Linked DNA regions of Homo sapiens: region 2 is linked to region 1. The links are contacts of gene promoters, found by promoter capture Hi-C in human tissues and cell types (Jung and others, 2019). All regions are on one chromosome and are shown on one strand. Each heading gives the region's core, a stretch centred on a gene start or on the middle of the fragment in contact. The rest is flanking DNA. Distances are from core to core; before and after follow the strand shown.

What was found. Contacts are between HindIII fragments. The study calls those that stand out against the background at their distance.
Region 2: a contact is called between a fragment that was not itself captured here and the fragment with the promoter of SIM1 in region 1, in 1 of the 25 tissues and cell types used here (dorsolateral prefrontal cortex).

Annotation. Positions count from the first base shown.
Region 1 is chr6:100,462,654-100,467,676 of GRCh38, reverse strand. It overlaps SIM1 (SIM bHLH transcription factor 1), which reads left to right and starts at 2,756. Exons shown (of 12, transcript NM_005068.3): 1 at 2,756-3,063; 2 at 3,742-4,383. The coding sequence starts at 4,209. RefSeq lists an enhancer at 1-24. The HindIII fragment of the contact is 4,452 bases long and covers 391-4,842 here.
Region 2 is chr6:99,410,790-99,415,812 of GRCh38, reverse strand. It overlaps PNISR (PNN interacting serine and arginine rich protein), which reads left to right. Exons shown (of 12, transcript NM_032870.4): 3 at 1,123-1,241; 4 at 3,074-3,262; 5 at 4,849-5,023. The coding sequence starts at 1,154. Among named protein-coding and RNA genes, the nearest start is that of PNISR-AS1, 12 kb to the left of the region's middle. The HindIII fragment of the contact is 4,631 bases long and covers 322-4,952 here.

The DNA of each region.
Region 1 (5,023 bases), core at 1,507-4,006:
ACTCTTGGGGGAACAGTGTCGCCATCACACTAGGCTGTTCGCCCTGCTTGGTGGGGGAAGGAGGGAGACACTTTTTTGCAGCCCCGCATGGGTTTTCTCCCACATCAGGATCGCATTCTGGGTGCCTGAGGGCCAGAGGCTAGGTTTTAAGGCCACCGGCTCAAGGAGGTGGCGGCCTAGACTCTATAAGGATCTCTATTTGGGGTTAGTGGGTCGCCCGTGACCGTCTCTTCCTTTCTGGGGCTTTTCTCCTTATATTGGCAAAACGATTAGTCTCTGAGCTTCAAGAAATTCATTTAAAATTTCCCGTGCTAGAGGCGAACGTAAATTCGCAGAACACGTGGGAGGCACCTGAGGTTCCGGTTCACGGTTCACGCCTCCGGCTACAGGGCGCGTGGGGGGCTGGCAGGCGGGGTCGTGGGGAGGGTGCAAAGCCAGGTCCCTGGGCCCGGGAGGGGGAGTGAAGGAGCAGCGTTCCGGCTCCAACCTAGGTTCAAAGATTAGAAAAACAGGTGTTACGTCGTCATGCTAATTCACTCTCTCGGTAAACGCGGCTCAGACAGTTGTGTGCTGAGGACTTAGCGAGAGGCCGTCACCTCGTGGTCGTGCATTCACTTTGTTTATTAAACGACATCTACTTGGCTCATTGACAACTGAGCTTCACTGGGACATTGGAACAGCCCGCCCAGCCCCCCAGGACGTCAGCCTTAAGCGTGAAGACTTCCTTACTCATTTTGCCCATCTTGCTTCTGAAGGCAAAATTACTGCATTTTTTCTTCTGGAAACCCAGCATTACCTGACTCCCTACCTCCACCCCCCGGAAGTCCCTGCTGTGGACACAGGTTTCAAACCCCAGAGAGGCACTTCCACACCGGCATGTTGTTTTAAGTAGAGATAGGGTTAGAGTAACCGCGGTCTTGACTGAAATCCTCTCTAGAACACAGTCGAATGGAAAACCTCCTCTTAACCCTAAGTGTCATTGCTTCGCCTGGCAGCTATATGTGACCTGGTTGGAGGGGAGAGGAGGGTCAAGAAAGGTTATTTCCCCTCTCCACACGCACCCTCCACCCCCGACTTTACATGTAGTAGCCAACTTGACCTTATCTGATCTTTCTGGAATCTTGTGTATAAGTGAGCCACAGTGCATCTCTCGCTATCTTCTAGCTATGTCTTGTTAAAAGCGCATCATTGGGTGGTTGGAAGGCGCCCAGAACCAGATCTCTAAGTGGCTACAGCCACTGGGGAAATGACTCCTCCTAGATTAGAGTCCATTAGCTGGATTCCAGTTTTGAAAGACCTACAAAATCTCCGTGCTTCTTTCTTTTTCTTTCTATCCAAAACTTTCACCTCCTCCAGCCAGGTGTTGCCCAGATATGTAAATAACACCAGAAAGCTGCTGTTGTCCTTCTACGACTATCTTACTGCCATCGGGCGGCAAGGAGGTGGCAGATGTCTGTATTTTTGAACAAACACTCTTAAAGTTGTTCTGAATATCAGCAGAATGGCACACACCCCTCTTCAAAGTATTTATTTTCTCAGTGGCAATTAGCGCCACAAACGAGAGGATGAGTGCCCCGTCACTGGTGTTCTCACTGATTTTTATGGTAGATGAAACAACTCCCTCCAAACGCACCTCTAGGAGCCGAATCTGGTCACCGGCGTACCAAAACCAAGCCGGGAGTCGAGTCTGTAGGGGGTGATTCGTGAGGACAACAATTGTTTTTGGGACAATTTGACTTTTTCTTGATGCTACCTGTTGTGTTTTCTCAGATGAGAGAAAGAGAAGGCGGTTCAAATTAGAGGGTCTCTAAAAGATAATTAGTCAGCAAGAGTCCTGGTGAGCGTTTGTTTAAACAGCTCCTATTAGGGAACCGCGAGCATCGTTAAGTTCATTCATGTAGACTGTATCCTTTCTGTAAGGAATAATCATGTTGGACTTTTGTTTCCTGAAACAAAACCCGACAAAGAGTTGGCTAATGTTTAAGATAAAGGACTGTTGGGAGCTATGTATCTCTATATCAATCATTCTATTTTGCCCTGAAATGTAAGCTTTTCCCCTAGTGTCCCCCTAGCTGCTCCCCATAGGAAAACTCCCCGGCCGAGTTTCCACGGTGAAAAAAATCAGCCCCAAACCCAAGCCATTTCGAAAAAGACGCACTTCTTTGGGATTAATTTAAAGACAGTTATTGTATTTATTTCCTCTGGCAATGAATTCCGTGTCGCCATGGTTTCAGAGAAACGAGAAAGAGAAAATAACTCCCCAAACCGGCCTCGCGCACGCCGTCGGCCAGCGACTGCCAGCGGGATGGGCCTTTGGGCGAACCCTGCCTCCTCCGCCGGTAGACCTAACCCGCAGGCCCGACCTCCGCTGCCTCCGGACGTTCCCGGTTCTGCTGGGCCGCCGCGCTGGACTGAGCGCTCAACCACCCGACCCCAGGGAGCTCGAGGAGCGCGGGTCGCGCACGACGTCGGGAAGGCCCAGGAGGCCGCGAGCAGCGGCGGCAACCGGACAGCGCCGACCCGGCACCCTGAGCTCATTAGGAGTCCAGCGGTCCCGCGGGTAGTAAGATTCAGAGCCCGGAGCCTGGGCGCGCGGAGGGCGGCTCGGGGCCGACTCGTGTCACTCAGCCCTATTGGCCAATGAGCGCCTCGCCCCTGGCCGCGCCAGGCCAATGGGAGGCGAGGGGGCTTGTGAGTGGCATTGAGGGAGGGCGGGAGAGAGGCGGCCCCGGAGTGAAGTTGAAGCTAAACCCTTAAGCTATAAAGAAGTTACGGGGGGCAGTTTTCGGCTTCCAATTAGGAATAATAGTGAACTGGCTTCGTAGCAACTACGGAGGACCAGGATTCTAAAATCACCTCACTCGTCCCAAAGCTTGCATCCTCCTCTTTCTGCCACGCACCCCTCCTCCAATTCATGATCCAGAAAAGGGAGCCGGGAATGCTCTGCTCCTCTCTGCCGGTGGGAAGCGGAGAGGCCGGCGGTGTCGCTGGGTTGGACGGTAGGCATGAGAACAGTTAAGAGATGGGCGCCCCCGAAACCTCTGCCGCTTGTGGGGACTGAAGGTAGGTGAAGCAGAAGACGCCCCGCGCCCGCCCAGCAGCCCCGCAGCTCCGCGGTGGTGTGGGAGAGGCCGCGGCGCCTCCCACCCCCGGGGGAGCCTGCGAGGGGCTGTCGCGAGCGCGCCACCTGTTAACCTGGCGCTGCTGGGCCCCGCTTGTTGCAGCCCCTGCTGGGCAGCCAGAGCGCTGGGTCGCCTTGGGAGTCCCGAGAGACTTGGTGTGTAAGTGTCACTTTTTGAGGAATCCCTCAGACTTGAGACCCAAGTTAAAGAGGTAGCCAAGGTCCAGATCTGCCAAGGTAGGGAGCTGAAAGGCCCCTGCCTCGCCTTGGAGGAATTCTGATTTGCGGAAACCTGCTTTCCTGGGACGTGCGCCCGGCCTGGGCGCGGACTCGGGGATCCGCGGCGGAAGATCCCTTGCGGGTCTTCAGAAATATGTATTTTGTTGTTTGGGCAACTTCCCAGGGGTCTGGAGGATGCGGCTGGCATGGGTGAGGGAATGCCAGCATTATTTGCAGGGGGCTGTCTCGCTGCCGATTTACCCGTTTCTTTAAAAACAAACCCAAAACGCCTGGCTAGGCGCACTGAGGCCCTTTCCGGCCGTGTTTTTGGAATTGGGACGAGTGTGTGAGTACTTGTGGAGCCGCTGATCTCTTATGCTCTGATGCTGTTGTCTTCACAGGGCCTTGAAAGAGTTGTCTGGGGTTCCTGCTCTTCCCAAAGGGGCTCGGAGATACCTTAAATGCCGCGAGACTGAAGAGCAAACGTCAGGGATTATTATGTCGATTTTCCGAGGACCAGGGTTCGCAGCTGGCAGTAGAAGAAAAGGCTGGCTCCTCAGGGGTCCCACTGGCATTTGATACCCTGAACGACCCTCAGGATTGCCCAAATTCGGTGGATCGCCCAAATTCGGTGGATCAGCAACTTTCCTATACTGCATCCCGAATTTTCAAAGAACATATTTTCCGTTCACCCCCGCTGGTCTTTTACTGCCATCAATACACTGTTCTTGGTGCAAATACTTCAGCCTCTTTATTCAAAGTATGTTTTATGTTTTTGCCAAATATGATCTCTAATTGAAAGTTTATTTTTGGTTTTGGATGAATCTGCGGAGCTTAAGTTGTGAGAAGAAAGGGGGAACAAGACACAATGAAAGAAAAGTCCAAAAATGCTGCGCGGACTAGGAGGGAGAAGGAAAACAGTGAATTTTATGAACTGGCTAAATTACTGCCTTTGCCCTCGGCTATCACCTCGCAGCTGGACAAAGCATCCATAATCAGACTCACGACCAGCTATCTCAAAATGAGAGTGGTGTTCCCAGAAGGTAAGTGACTTTGCCCAGATGGAATTTCAAAGGCAGAAGGGGCCGGGGATTTGCCAGGCAATGAGCCGACATCAGTGACCAGAGAAATGCATACATATTTACATATATATTTTGCAAAGGGAAGTTTAGCTCGGCTGCTTCACTAAGGTCCTCACTGAACTCAGAATTTCTGTCGCTTTTTTGAGGCTCCCTCTACCTCCCCATCAATACTTTCTCTTCAGTCCATCAGATATGTTTGGTTGGGAAGCAGCCCAACAGTCCTTTTGTCAACACTTCAGATACTAGGCTCAATTGAAAGTACTACTAATCCAAACATGACTTTCTTTTTTACTCCTCTTGTTAGAATTTTGTCCAGTAAAAACCAGGAGCACCGCCTAATTCTGTATTTTTTTTTTGCCAGGTGTGGATAGACCCATGTACCTGGAGCTAGATAGGCCAGATAATAATTTCTCTATATATCTAAAGATTTGCAAATGAGTAACATGCATATTTGTGAACAAGTATGCCTGAATTTACTCAAGTTCTTAAATAAATTCTAAGCAAATTTATTCCGAGTTTTCAAGACATTCGCAGATTCTGAAACTAACTCTGGAGCTTGATGATTTGCAACTGTGGGCTTGATGTTATCTGTAAGATAATA
Region 2 (5,023 bases), core at 1,388-3,887, 1.1 Mb after region 1:
GTTATCCAACTTGCCTACTTTTTGTGATCCTGCAATACAAAGGCTTGCTTTTATCTTGTTTTTAGCATACAGGAAAGGATCAATCTAGAAGGATTCATTTAGTAAACATTTATTAAATGCCTGCTATGAACTAAGCCTTGGGATACAAAAATAAAGAAGAAACCATGCCCTGGTTATGTGAGTCACTGGTTCTTGAACAGGGTTGTGTATCAGTGTTGGAATAAAGTACAAAGATATTAGACTTGTAAGACTTTTAAACCTTTTATTAGGAATGTTTTCAGACTAGCTTACAGAAAAGTTGGGCTAGTGTGATGATTCCCCCCCATACCATCTCCTAAATTAATAGTTATTAACATAAAGTACCTTCCCTCCCATCTTTTCCATGCTATTTATATGTTAAGAAACCAGGTCTTGGAGGCTGTCTTACTTTCTGGATTTAATACCGTTTATCTCATTTCTTTATCCTTTAAAATTGCTTTATATTGGAAGTAAAATCCAAAAGCTCAGTTGGACTCAGTTAAACATTTTTGATGAGAATTCTTAGTGATTCTGGGAGCATAGTAGACACCTAATAATCTGTAGGGGTGATATTTTGGCAACCTTTGAATTTCTGATTTCTCATCAACTTTTCTTGTAAGGTTTCCTGAATTAATATTTTATTACTTTTGGCAATATGATAGTTTTCTAATTCTGTTCTACATTCTTCATTTTTTTAGCTGTAATTATTTATAAGGAAAAATTTTTCTTCATCTGCTGAAGCTATTTGGTTACTATCTTAAAGGAATCTTGATTGGGGAGAAATGAAATCACTTTTTTCCTACAATCTTCAAAATAATTACATATCCAGAAATTTATATTGTACAAAAAATAGAGTTTTTTTTAAAGTCTTTTTTGAGCTAAATTCATTGTGTTATGCTTGCCACCAAATTCTGAGACCAGCATTAACATAAAATTTTCTACCTCGTTTGGTACCCTAAAAATTCTAGTTGCCTCTGGCAAGCTATTGACAAGAATTTTAGACCTCTGATGAAATAAATGTATCATCATATAATAATTTCTGATGTGAGGTTTTAAGATTAAATAACTCACTATAATTTTTAAACTATGTTTAATTTATTGAAGATAGAAAATCAAGTATATTTTAAAAGAAGGGATGTGGGATCAAGGAGGACAGCCTTGGCAGCAGTGGCCCTTGAACCAGCAACAATGGATGCAGTCATTCCAGCACCAACAGGATCCAAGTAAGGAAACAAATTGAATTTGAAAGGGCGGGGTTGGATATGTGGAAATGGGTAGAAGACACATGATGGGATTAAGGGATATGGAATTGAGATTGGTGTACTGGATCATTTTATGGTCAGAATTTAATCTTCTCATAAATAGCCTTGCCATAGCATATATAGCAGGAAATGGACTTCCCTTTGGAAGACTCTCAAAATGTAGAAAGCTTTTTGAAGATTTTACATTTTTTAAACTGATTTAGTCCTTGTTTTTCTAAAGAAAGAGAAAAGCCTAAAATATGTTGCTTATGGAGAACACTTCTGTGAATTCTGACTCTTAAAGTTGTATATTATATTGAACTGGATGGTGTGCTATATCATTTTAAAATTTCTTTTTGCTGTGGACTATTTCAGGCACACATACAAAGGTAGAAGAGTATAGGGAGCCCTTGTTTATTATTTAGCTTTAACAATTGTTAACTAGTGGCCAATTTTGTTTCATCCGTAAGACCACTTACGTTGCTCTGCCCTCACTGGATTGATCTGATGCTATTTCTTTTTTTAATAGCCATGTATCATTCTATTGTAGGATTGTACCATAATTTAACAAAGCCACTTTTGGGTGTTTTGTTATTTAAAGTTTTTCACTTTTTGAAACAATTAGCATAATCTTGTGTACATATTGTTATTCACTTGTCCAATTATTTTCTTATTAAAAGAGCTAGGTTTGTTAAGTCACGGTAATTTCAGGTGCACATTGCCATGTGTAACCCCATAGGGGTTATGCCAGTGTTTCAAACTGAGAATACCTATTTAATCTTCATTAAAGTAAGATGCAGAAAAACATATCTTATTCTACTTTGTTTACTTTATTAATATTAGATCTTAATGCATTTTTGGGTGGACTTGCAAAATAAAAATTATTAAAAAGATCTTGAAATGTTAAATGTAGATGCTTGGGAAGAGAGGCCAGGTGCGGTGGTTCATGCCTGTAGTTCTAGCACTTTGGGAAGCTGAGGTGGGCAAATCGCTTGAGCTCAGGAGTTTGAGGCCAGCCGGGGCAACATGATGAAACCCCATCGCTACCAAAAATGCAAAAATTAGCCAGGCTCATAACCCAGACTCTACATGGATGGATGGATGGATCATGGATGAATGGATGGATGGATGGATGGATGGATGGATGGATGGATGGATGGATAGATACGTAAAAATTTAGAAATTAAAAAAATGTATCTTGGGAAGAGAGTCTTCAAGATAGTGGGGAAATGAATTTTGAGTAAAGACTGGCTAAGAAGTTGTAGCCAGACTACACTAGTCATGTTTTGGCTAGAGAAGGGAGCCTTATTTAAAGAAGGGCAACCATAAGGAAAAACAGAGTTAGGTAGCTGCTCTCATCAAAGGCCTATAGGCTCGAATGCAGGCCTGGAAAGATAAATAGGACATGTTGAAGGAAGAAATGATAGCGTTTGATTATTTTTGTGGTGATTTTTTTTTTGTAAAGGTGATGACATTTAAAAATTCAGTAAACTAAGATGCAGGGGATAAATTTTATATGAATTAATATTAGAAATGGGTTAAGAGTGTTTTTTGTGGAGTTCTTTCCTGAAAGTGTAAGTAGTTTATATTATTTTTTAGCCTGAATATGGGTTATTTGCTAAGTACCCTTTCAGACACAGTATGCTTTAATATTTAAGATCTCATTCAAAAAAAATTTTTCTAATTTCCCTCATACCCTCTCTGTCTGAAATATTTAAGATCTAAGGAATAGTTGAGCTGCTTATTTTACATAGAGGCACTATTCTTTTAACTCCTACATTCTGAATGCTGAAGTCAGTGTTAATTTACGTTAGGCCAGATTGATTGGGCTGCATTGGCCCAAGCTTGGATTGCCCAAAGAGAAGCTTCAGGACAGCAAAGCATGGTAGAACAACCACCAGGAATGATGCCAAATGGACAAGATATGTCTACAATGGAATCTGGTCCAAACAATCATGGGAATTTCCAAGGGGATTCAAACTTCAACAGAATGTGGCAACCAGGTTTGTTGTTTATGTTTTCACAATTTTAAGACTTTTAAAAAACAGAATGAAGATTATTATTAAATTTTTTAATTTGCTTAGTTGTATGACTTCTGGAAATTAATGCTTCTTAAAGAATAGGCAGTTTTCAATTTGATTTGACTTTGACATTTTGTGGTTAAAATTATTCTGTACTCATTCTGCTAGCTTTGTGGCACTCAGTTTGATTCTTTTCTTGGTTCTTCATTCCTAGGCTGACAGGGGCTGGGAACACTCTGGAAACCTCACTTGGCATCTAGGGAAGAGAGCATTCTTTGTCTCTCTATTGCAACCTCTGGCCTTTTCAGAAGCAGCACTGGCAGAGTAAAACATGTCTAGCCTCTAATTAAAGAAAAATTGTGTCACTGTGTGACAAATTAGTCTGTCAAATATACTCTGCCCCTACCATCCGCCTACCTTTTTCTTCCCTTTTTTTTTTTCAGATAGTGAAGATCTTTCATAAGTTTTTGTGTGTTTTACTTTTTTGTTTGTTTTATTTCACAGTATGATGTAGATTTCTTGATGCTAATTCAGTCTTCCATGGCTTGTGTTATTCCTTTTTAATAGTCACTTGAAACTATGGAGGAATCAGCCTCTCATTTGGGTATGCTGATGGTGAAGTCATAACCTCCTTTCCCTATTAATACTTTTTGTTTCTCCTTATAAGAATGGAGACCTCAGTCGAGACCAGCCTGGGCAACATAGCAAGGCCCTGTCTCTACAAAAAAAAAAAAAAAAAAAACCTTAAAACTTAGTCAGGCATAGAGGCGCATGCCTGTAGTCCCAGCTACTTGGGAGGCTGAGGTGGGAGGATTGCTTGAGCCTAGGGGATTGAGACTGCAATGAGCTGTGATCACGCCACTGCACTCCAGCCTGGGTGACAGAATGAGTCCCTCATTTAAAACAAACAAACAAAAAAAACGAGAATTCAGATTACTTTTAAAAACATAAATATTCTAGTCTTTGATACTGTGAGGTGGTTCATTTCTAGCTTTCTTGAAAGTGAAATTTCCCCACATTTGAAAATGTTTTAGTTCCTAAGTTTAAGTTCTTAAATGACTCCCGCGGGCATCCCTACCCCTTAGTTTTACTCTACTTTGTGACCCTGGGCAAGTGATTTACCTCTGTGTGCCTCGATTTTCCCTCCCGAAATTGGCAAAAATAATACCTAATTTCTCCCTACCTCACAGGGATGTTGTGAGGATAAATGTGTTCGTGTAAGAAAGAAATTATATAAAACCTCAAGGTATTATTTTTGTGGTGTTGTTACTAAACAAATATAAAAATTCAACAAAAATAGTGCTTTGGATTTTGTTACATTTGTTAAAAATAACTTTGGGCATTTGGTTAGGATATGAATTAGAGTGGAGTTAGCTCATTTTGAATTATATATGACAGTTTAGTTCATTGCTTATTTTTAAGATAAACAAAAGGAATTTGACCAAGAAGTCATAAGTTGTTTTTTAAATCTGTATGTTTACTGAAAAATCTTTCTTGAGATCTTAAAATTCTGTGTTGATTTTGTTATAACCGCCTGTTGAATGTTTTTATGCCTAAATCTTAAATAGAATGGGGAATGCATCAGCAACCCCCACACCCCCCTCCAGATCAGCCATGGATGCCACCAACACCAGGCCCAATGGACATTGTTCCTCCTTCTGAAGACAGCAACAGTCAGGACAGTGGGGAATTTGCCCCTGACAACAGGCATATATTTAACCAGAACAATCACAACTTTGGTGG